Regions from separate parts of the Homo sapiens genome. Here region 1 is linked to region 2. Evidence: promoter capture Hi-C in human tissues and cell types (Jung and others, 2019). All regions are on one chromosome and are shown on one strand. Each heading gives the region's core, a stretch centred on a gene start or on the middle of the fragment in contact. The rest is flanking DNA. Distances are from core to core; before and after follow the strand shown.

Region 1 (4,659 bases), core at 1,587-4,086, 45 kb before region 2:
CATACTTACCCCATATCTCTGATTGAGTGTCCCTGGTGAATTGAATTGAAAGTGCACTGAACTACAAAGACAATTTGCCATAAGATAGCTGTTATATGGCTGGGTGCGGTGGCTCATGCCTGTAATCTCAGCACTTTGGGAGGCTGAGGTGGGCAGATCACGAGGTCAGGAGTTTGAGACTAGCCTGACCAACATGGTGAAACCCCATCTCTACTAAAAATACAAAAATTAGCCGGGCATGGTGGCACGTGCTTGTAATCCCTGCTATTTAGGAGGCTGCAGCAAGAGAATCACTTGAACCCAGGAGGCAGAGGTTGCGGTGAGCCAAGATTGTGCCACTGTACTCCATCCTGGGCAACAGAAGAAGACTCCATCTCAAAAAAAAAAATAGCTGTTATGTTATGCAAGCTGTTTGACACCTTTATGCCTCAACTACTTCATCCGCAAGATGGGGATAATAATGTGTGCTCTACTTACCTCGTAAGGTTGTGAGGACAAAACTAAAACTGTAAGATTGCTTTGAGGAGCTAAATGCATCATGGATAAGTGGTGCAATTCCTATGCAGACAGTATGATGGTTCCTCACAGGACCCAGCAATCCTATGAGGAACCATCAGCAATCCAGCAATCCGGCTTCTGGATTTATATCCAAAATAATCAAAATCAGAGTCTCAAAGAGATATTTGCATACCAACATTCATAGCAGCATTATTCACAATAGCCAAGAGGTGGGAGCAACCCAAGTTACCATCCACAAATGAATGGATAAACAAAATGTGATATACACATACAATGGAATATTATTCAGTCTTGAAGAGGAAGGAGACCCTGTCGCATGCTACAACTTGCGTGAACCTTAAGGACATTATTCTAAGTGAAATAAGCCAGGAACAAAAAGGCAACTACCATATGATTCCACTTATATGAGGTACCTAGAGTAGTCAAACTCAGAAACAGAAAGTAGAAAGGTGGTTACTGGGGACTGGAGGAGGGGAAAGGAGAGTTATTGTTTTAATGAGTATAGGGTTTCAGAAGACAAAAAAGTTCTAGAGATTTGTTTCACAACAATGTGAATATACTTGACGCTGCTGAACTTTACGCCCACCTAAAAAAGGTTAAGATGATAAATTTTATGTTAAATATTTTTTGTTTGTTTGTTTTACCACAATGAGAAAGAAAGCACGGTAGAAACAGAAGGTATCATTATCAAGTATAACCCAGAGGTTGGGAGAACAACAGGTGCATCTGTACATTTTCCAAGGTAGGCAAATTATATCAGTGGGTCCACTGTCCTGGGTTCCCCAAGGACACTTTTACTGAGGAACACATAAAGGAATAAAGCAGGGAAGTATTTAGAAAAGTATTTCTTAAAGTGGGAAATATACTAGCATTCCCTAAGGAATTAAAAAAAAACACAGGTCAGTGTTCTTGGCTGCAAATAACAGAAGCTACTCTGGTTAGCCATATTAGTCAGGATTCTCTAGAAAAACAGAACCAGTGGGATATATCTACATGTAGAAAGATATTTATTTGAAGGAATTGGCTCATAGGATTATGGAGGCTGACAAGATCAAAATCTGCAGAGTGGGCCTGTAGGCTGGAGACCCAGGGAAGAGTCAATGTGGAGGTTCAAGTCCAACAGCCATCAAGCTGAAGAACCAGGAAAGAGCTAATGCATTGTAACCTGCACAGACCTAGATGGACTGAACAAAGAGGGGCAAACATGGGAATAAAAGATAAGAGACAAAAGAGTATATTTGGAAGAGGGGTCAGGGGGCACCTTGCCTCTAGTGGACAAGGGCCCCGAGCTTTACACAGCCCTCCGTATTTATTAGGCAAAAGAGATAGTGAGAAGGAGAATGGAAGAAGGGGTCAGCTGCTCAATCCAGAGTAGGCTTGCAAGATTGTATTCCTCAAACAACAGGCTCTAGATATCACAGTAGATAGCCTCGGTGCCAGGGAGTGATTGCCTCCAGCAAAACTTCTGTTGGCTTCTGTTGGCAGGAGCAGTTGTGAGTTTGCTCACATCCTGCATTCATGATAAACAGTTTGCTGTTTGATCATATAGCCTCCAGTAGAATGCCAAGTTGGTCACGTCCCATGGGCCTTTGGCTCCCTGCATATCTCCCTTCCTGTTAATGAATTAATTGAAAGAATGTAAGGCCAGGCTGGGCAGCTCTCATTCTCCAATTGGCAGTCCATCCTCTTTTACCGACTATAAACAGAAGACAGAGACAAAACAACATTATTCCAAGAACCATACAAAAGATGTAAATGTGGTGCCTTAGATAGGTCCAAGGGTTGAGGCTCTCCAGGCCTTGCTGGAATTTGGTGCAGTCTTCTAAAGAAGGCTGAAACTCTTGAGTTGGGTTATTTAAATAAAGAATTTTGTTTTGTAATTCACCAATATCAAAGGTGATGTTGGATGTGAAAGTTCCCTGCAAATGGGCTTTCACAAGGTCCCACAGATACTCACTTTGGTTATATTCCAAGTTGGTTACACAAATATGAGTGTGATTAAAATGACAATGCAATTGCTGCTGCAATTGCAAGCTTTGTACTTGTTCCCCTAACCATAGAACTGTGGATTTTAACATTGCCACTTCAGTTTGTAACTCAGTGTTAATTTTACTCTGAAGTAGCCATGCTTGGTCGGCTGTGCATGTCCAGTTCTCCATGTACTGAGCTGTTTGAACAGAACTATGCAAAGCTGCAGAAGATATCACAACAGAAGTTATTAGTGTGATCAAGGAAACAATAGCAAAAATTATCATGCCTAAGGCTCTATGGACACAATGAGTAAGCTCAGTTAGAAGAAGTTTTGCAAAAGGCAAAGCAGGTGTAGCAGCCCAAGGCTCAGACGGATGAATAGGGATGCGACCTAAAATCATCAAAGGAGAGATGTTATGTGTTTGCAATGTGCTAAGATTAATGCAGTGATAGAACTGGCAAGACTTACAGATCAATTGGGTATTGTTTACCTGGAGCTGGTCCTTCTTAGCTGCTAGAAAGACATGAGGATTAAAAACACAAACTGTAAATTGAGTGGTGATATTCTTTACAAATGTAACATTGGAACTGTGTTGTGTCTTTGGTCGGCCTTCTCTCTGTCTTTGCACTCAAGCTCAGCTGACTCATGGCTCATACCAGAGGGACCAAGCCCATGGTTGGCCACCCTGGGTTCCTCCAGTCTCCCGTTCCATGCTGGCATGCACCTTGAGGGCACCCACACGGTTTATCCATCTCCTGTAAAAACACAAGCATATCCTCTTCCCCGTGTCAGTAAATCCACTGGACCTTTCCATTGTCCTTCTTGTGGGGATTTCCACAACACTTTTGGATTAACTTTCCTCTTTTCCTCTAACACTTGCCAATGTCTTTCTGCTGGAGTCTTACCATCCGTACCAGGAGTCCAAAAATTTAAAGTAAATAAGGCTAAATGTAGTTTTCATTGAGGTGGTAGTTGGCCTCCTATACCCCCTTTTTGTTTTTTCAACATGCATTGTAATGTTTGATGTGCCCGTTCTACAATGCCTCGTCCTCTAGGATTACAAGGAATTCCTGTTTTATGGGTTATAGCCCAAAGTTGTAAGAAATGTTGAAAAGCATGACTAGTATAAGTGGGTCCCCTGTCAGTTTTTAATTGTTTAGGTATTCCCATATAAGCAAATAATGACAGACAATGTCACCCTACGTGACCAGCTGTCTCACCACTTTGGCATGTAGCATGCAGCATATGAGAATAAGTGAAACAAATTAAGCAGTTCTGGGTCTAGTGTACTTTTAACTGCAGCAGTTTCTATGCAACTGGCTACATTTACAACATAAGCTGAATCACAGACAATGTTGATAGGATCTGAAGCTGTGAGCTGTAAAACCTGAATGCCAGCAGTTAGCTCTGAGCATTGAGTTGAAGCACCAGAGGTATCTAACTTCTCCTGTGTTAGAGGCCATTGATCCACCTGCACAGGTTTGTCACTAAACCATTCTAATAGTAAGGCAGTGGGTGGAGGAGAAATATCAATGACCCCCATCAGAAATCCTGACGTCCTAGCCCTTTTCTATCTGTTTTTCCAGTTACTGATATTGAGTTAGGATTTCTCTGAAGAAATTTTCCTAAACCTTTTCCCTTCTGATATCCCATGTTCTTCAACATTTTCAACCCTAGGTTGTCAAAGTTTTCATTTGTTAAGTCTCATATCCCATGCTGGAGGTAAGTCTCAACCCCATAAGTTGATGGCTATACTTGCAACATAAGGCTGAAAAATACATGACTGTCCATCCGGACCAAGACAAGATAAAATCTCAGTGCTCTGTTGAACACTTTGAGCTGTTCCTACTCCCACTAGGGATGTAGAAGCTAATTGCAAGGGCCAGGATGGGGGCCAATTATCTTTAGATATTACTGATACATCAGCTCCTGTATCCATAAGCCCATAAAATTTCTTTCCTTTAATTTGTACTACACAAGTTGGTGTATTAGAGGCTATGGGTTGGGATAGATAGATTTCCCTTGTAGTTGTGCTCCCAAGCCCTTTATTTCCTAATTTCTCCTTTCATGGAGAAGGGTGTAATTTGCAGGGAATAAGCAATAATTAAGCAATATATTCTCCCGGTTCAAAAACCCAAAGATCTTGTGACATTAAAACTATTTGAATT
Region 2 (4,587 bases), core at 768-3,267:
AACCAATTACAAAATTCTTTGTTTAGAACAAAAGGGCACTGAGACGCTGAGGGTTTCAAAGTCACATCTTGGCTAACTCCTCTGCCCCGCCCACTAGAGGGAAGAAAAAAAACCTTCCTTAGGAGGAAAAAAAAAATACACACAAAGAGGCCACTCCCAGGCGGCGTGGGGGGTGGGGTGGGTGCTGCTAGGAGGGGCAGTGATTAACTTTTTGTAAGAAGTTTTTCGCCCAGGGAGGGAAGAGGGGAGAAGGGAGGATCACGGGGGGAGGGCGGGGGCGTTGCAAAGACTCATTCTCCTAAAGCGCAAAAACTTAATTTTCCCACGCCTGCCTAAATACAAACCATTCTGGGCTTCAAGCAACTTGTAGTGGGTAAAGAGAATGCGGTCTTAAAACGAAGGCCCTTCGGTGCTTGGGGTATATTGGGCGGGAGTGTCAGAAAATGAACAAACGGCACCTCCTCCCCCAAGCGGGCGCTCCTCCGGTGTGTGGGTCTCTTGCCATCCTCGTGTTTATCACTTGGCGCGTTTGGGACGTTAGGGAGCGGGGCATTTTCCTGGGTGGAGAAGGTAACGGGGTCTGCACCCGTGGTCCTCGCCCCAAGTTTCATTTCCTCACTCTCCCGGGTGGCTTCCCATTACCCCGCCACTGATCCAGTTAACCCGGCCGGAGGTGGGCAGCTGGAAGCCTCCAGGCGGTGGGCACGCGGGGGGCCGGGTCGTCCAGCCCCGGGCCGCCGCGGCTGCCCACTACACCCACGCCAACCGCCCGCAAGCAGCGCTGCAGGGGCTCCGCTGGGCGACACGCCAGGCTCTGTCCCACAGGGTGCTGGGGAGCGACTGGGCGGCTCCGCCGCGAGCGTCTTTGAATTGCGCGCCGCTGCAGGAAACCAAAAACTCCCTAGCAAGAGGGTTTCAAAAGGTTTCTGGAAACCACCGACGGTTAAACATCACAACTGGACTCGGAGAGAGCCAAACGGTTTCCCCACTTGCACCTGCCAGTCTTCGCGGCGGCGACCTGGCAGCCCAGGTGCGGTCTTAACCGCCCCCGCCCCTCACCCCGTACCCGCTCCTATCCCCGGAGCGCAAATCTCAGGGCTGGCAGCTGCGCGGTGTCAAAGGGGAGGTCAAACCACTCCGCTGACCTCTGCACGACCCCAAACTCTCGAACTGCAGGACCCACTCGCGGCCGTGGGGAAGAGGCGCGCTTCGGACGGCGGGAAGGTTTTCCCCCTCAAACCCAAAGCGCGCGGGCGGATCAACTCCTAGCTGCTGCCACCACTCGATCCCCTCAGAGGATCGGCGCGGTGGGTCCACCCGCCTCTCCCGCCCTCTGCCTACTGTGCTGGGAGACTGGCACAGCTCCGTCGGCCGCACAGAGTTTAACAAACACGCACCCAGTGTCAAGAACAGTCACCAGGCGCTTAACCCCGAAGTTAAAGCGGGCGCAATCTCCTCCTGGGAACTCAGCCCAGGCACGCCGCCCTCCGCCTCTAAATTCAGACAATGTAACTCGCTCCAAGACATCCCCGCTTCCCCAAGGAAGAGACCGGTGGTCTGAGTCCCGAGGCAGCGCGCACGCCTTCTCTGCACTTGTGCACAGAATGTTCTTACGTTTGCAAACAGCGTGCAAGCCGCCGCGCGCGGCGGGACTCAAGGGGGAGACACATGCAGCCACTGGAACGCTCTTTCCAGTCGTTTCTCCTCGACTCACAGAGAAAAAGATTCCAATCCTGCTCCCCCCCCACCCACCCGCACTATATAGGCATGGTCAAGAAAACTCCTTTCGGTGACCCTTTTTTGGAGTACGGGTACCTCCAATGTCCTGGCCGCTTCTGCCCGCTCGGAGAGGGGCTGCGCTCTAAGTTCAAACGTTTGTACATTTATGACAAAGCAGGTTGAAACTGGACTTACACTGATCCCCTCCATGGTAACCGCTGGTTCTCCAGATGCGGTGGCTACTGGAGCACTCAGGCCCTCGGCGTCACTTTGCTACCTGCTGCCGCAGCCAACAAACTGAAGTTTCTGGCCGCGGCCGGACTTTTATAAAAACACGCTCCGAGCGCGGCGCATGCGCCGCTGGGGCGGGGAGGGAGAAGGCGGGGTGGGGGAGAGGGGCAGACGCGAGGAAGGAGGGCGCAGGGGCGGGGCGGAGAGGTGCGCGGCTTGGGAAGCCCAGGGGACCCTGCTGTTTGCGGGTGGTCGGTAGTGAGTCCGGAGCCGGACAGGACCTCCCAGAGGCATTTCCTAAGTTTGAGGGAAGCGGGATGCGCCTGAAGACAGGTGGGAAGCGCGGGCTAGGAACGCGTCTCTCTGTGGCGCGTCCATCCTTGCTAAAGTGGATGGAATTCCAGACCTGGGAATGCTACAGTAGAGACACTGAGGCCCAGGGAAGGGGAGTGACTTGCTGGAGTAACCCAACCAGTAGGCGGCAATGCTGGAAGTAGGGCCAAGCTTCCAACGCCATTCCCCGCGCTTTCAGCAGACGCAGCCCATTCAGGAGGTAAAAGGAGTAAAGATCCTTCCTTCGGAGGATGTAGCTATACTTGCACATTCACAGCATCACTAGGGTCAGGTGCAGATAATTAGGAGATACTTTCAGAAGAAGGTAGGATTTGGCATAATTCTGGAGACTGATCAGATGTAGATATGTATTGCTCAGTAATTTCATAATAGCGGTAACCAATTCGCGAATAGTGCTTTATTATCCTAAAAGTATGCTTTATTATAAGAGTAATTTAGCGACCAGTACTTTTTGTAACAGATCACTAGGAACTTGCACAGAATCACTCATTCATTCTCACAACACCGTGTGGGTATTACCATCACAGAGATGCATTTAGTCCGATATTTATAGAAGGACGAACTGCGTGCCACGCACTGTTCTAGGCGTTGGGGATCCAGCGTGAACCAGACAAGGCCCGCATTCGGAGAAACCAGCAAATAAGCCCGGAGAGATGAAATGCCAGGGATGGGCAGGGATTCCAAGCCGGGCTTGAACCCAGGTCTTCGGTCCCCATACTCGGCGTCTTCCACGATTTTGAGCAGAGGACAAGCTTTGGCACGAATCAGAAATTAGGTTGAAGAACTGGGCGGGGCGGAGTGGGGGTGGGGGTCAGACGTTTAAAGCGATCTCAGACTGGCTGAGGTTTGCAGTGGGCGCGCAGACAGTGCTTTCCCCCTCGCGCCACTTCCCTCCGGCGCGGAGACTGGGTGGGGCGGGGGAGCGAGTGTGGGGCGGGGCCGAGAAACTGCGTCCGCAGGCGGGGTGGCCGCTGCGGAGATAGCTGGGACCGAGGCGCGTGCGTCGCGACACGGACCCCAGAGGCCCCCACCCCGAAATGGTCCCGAGGAGAGGGATTGCCCAGACTGCACTCTACACACGATCCCTCTTTTCTATATCAAAAGAGGAAACATTTCAGTCTGGAGTGTTCCAGAGGTAGTTCGGAGGCAGGGAACCTTTTCTCTACAGAGCATGACTTTCCCCCTTTGTCTGGGACCCCTCCCTAATGTTGGTGGTTAAAGGTTCTCATCTACTCTGCACTTTCACTGACACAGGAAAGATGATATCCGGGCCGGGAGATGGGACTCTCAGAAACGAACGAGTTAGGACACACACTAATGGCCAGATAAAATCAATTCTAATATTACATTTGTAGAATTAAAAAAAAAAAAAGAAACTCCAGGTTCTTGGAGGGTGGTGGCTGGAAGAGGTTTCGGAAGCTCCACGCCCCTTCTCACAGGCCTTGCATTACGTATCTCTTCATCTGTATCCTTTATAATATCCTTTATAATAAACGATAACGGTAAGAAATAAAAATGAAAATAAAACCGTAAAAACACTTTTACTTTTTTCGAATCTTTAATAAAACTTAAGGATCTTCATATTTTTATAGACACGGTAGATCCTATCTACTGAAGGTCTAGAATTTCAGAGCGTTTTCATGACTTGCTTTTCACAAAGCCTGGTAGTGGCAGAATCAGTATGTTTTATCCTGGACCGTAAGCTGCACCCTACCTCAAAACTCCTCCCTGCACGATGTCTAAAACCTGAAAGGTGAGATCTCCCAAATCTGTCCAAAAAGGGAAAGAGGAGAAAACTCGGAGCAAAATGGTTTGCATAATAAATATTTGTTGATTGTAGACAGACAAAAGAAAGCTCCTTCCTTTATCTGAAGACTCCTTTCAGATCTTTTTAGGGATCTCTACTAAAAGGAAGCAGATAATTAAAAGAACAATGAGATGCTATTTGGTGACTACCAAATTAGGCAAAAATCCATTTTTTTTCAAAGATAATATTTGGTCTCCGGATTTGAAAAGACCAGCTGTCTCTCGCTTGTCACTGATGGGAATGTGGCTTGGGACAGCCTCACTGGAAAGCATTTTCTATTCAGCAGGAACTTCAGAACAGTAACTCCACTCATAAAAACTTATGCCACAAAGGTATTTGTGGAAACATTTTTTTTTAAATAGTGAAATGTCTGAACATCCCTAAATAACCACTGTTAGTGGAATAGTTGACAAGATTTTGGTTCATCCACATCTGAAATTCCATATGGACATCGCGAATGTTATTTGTGAAGAATT

What was found. Contacts are between HindIII fragments. The study calls those that stand out against the background at their distance.
Region 1: a contact is called between a fragment that was not itself captured here and the fragment with the promoter of CXCR4 in region 2, in 2 of the 25 tissues and cell types used here (H1 embryonic stem cells and spleen).

Annotation. Positions count from the first base shown.
Region 1 is chr2:136,070,140-136,074,798 of GRCh38, forward strand. No RefSeq gene overlaps it. Among named protein-coding and RNA genes, the nearest start is that of CXCR4, 46 kb to the right of the region's middle. The HindIII fragment of the contact is 5,764 bases long and covers 1-4,659 here.
Region 2 is chr2:136,116,132-136,120,718 of GRCh38, forward strand. CXCR4 (C-X-C motif chemokine receptor 4) reads right to left here and starts at 2,018. Exons shown (of 2, transcript NM_003467.3): 1 at 1,915-2,018. The coding sequence starts at 1,929. RefSeq lists a silencer at 640-809 and an enhancer at 940-1,009. The HindIII fragment of the contact is 8,205 bases long and covers 1-2,755 here.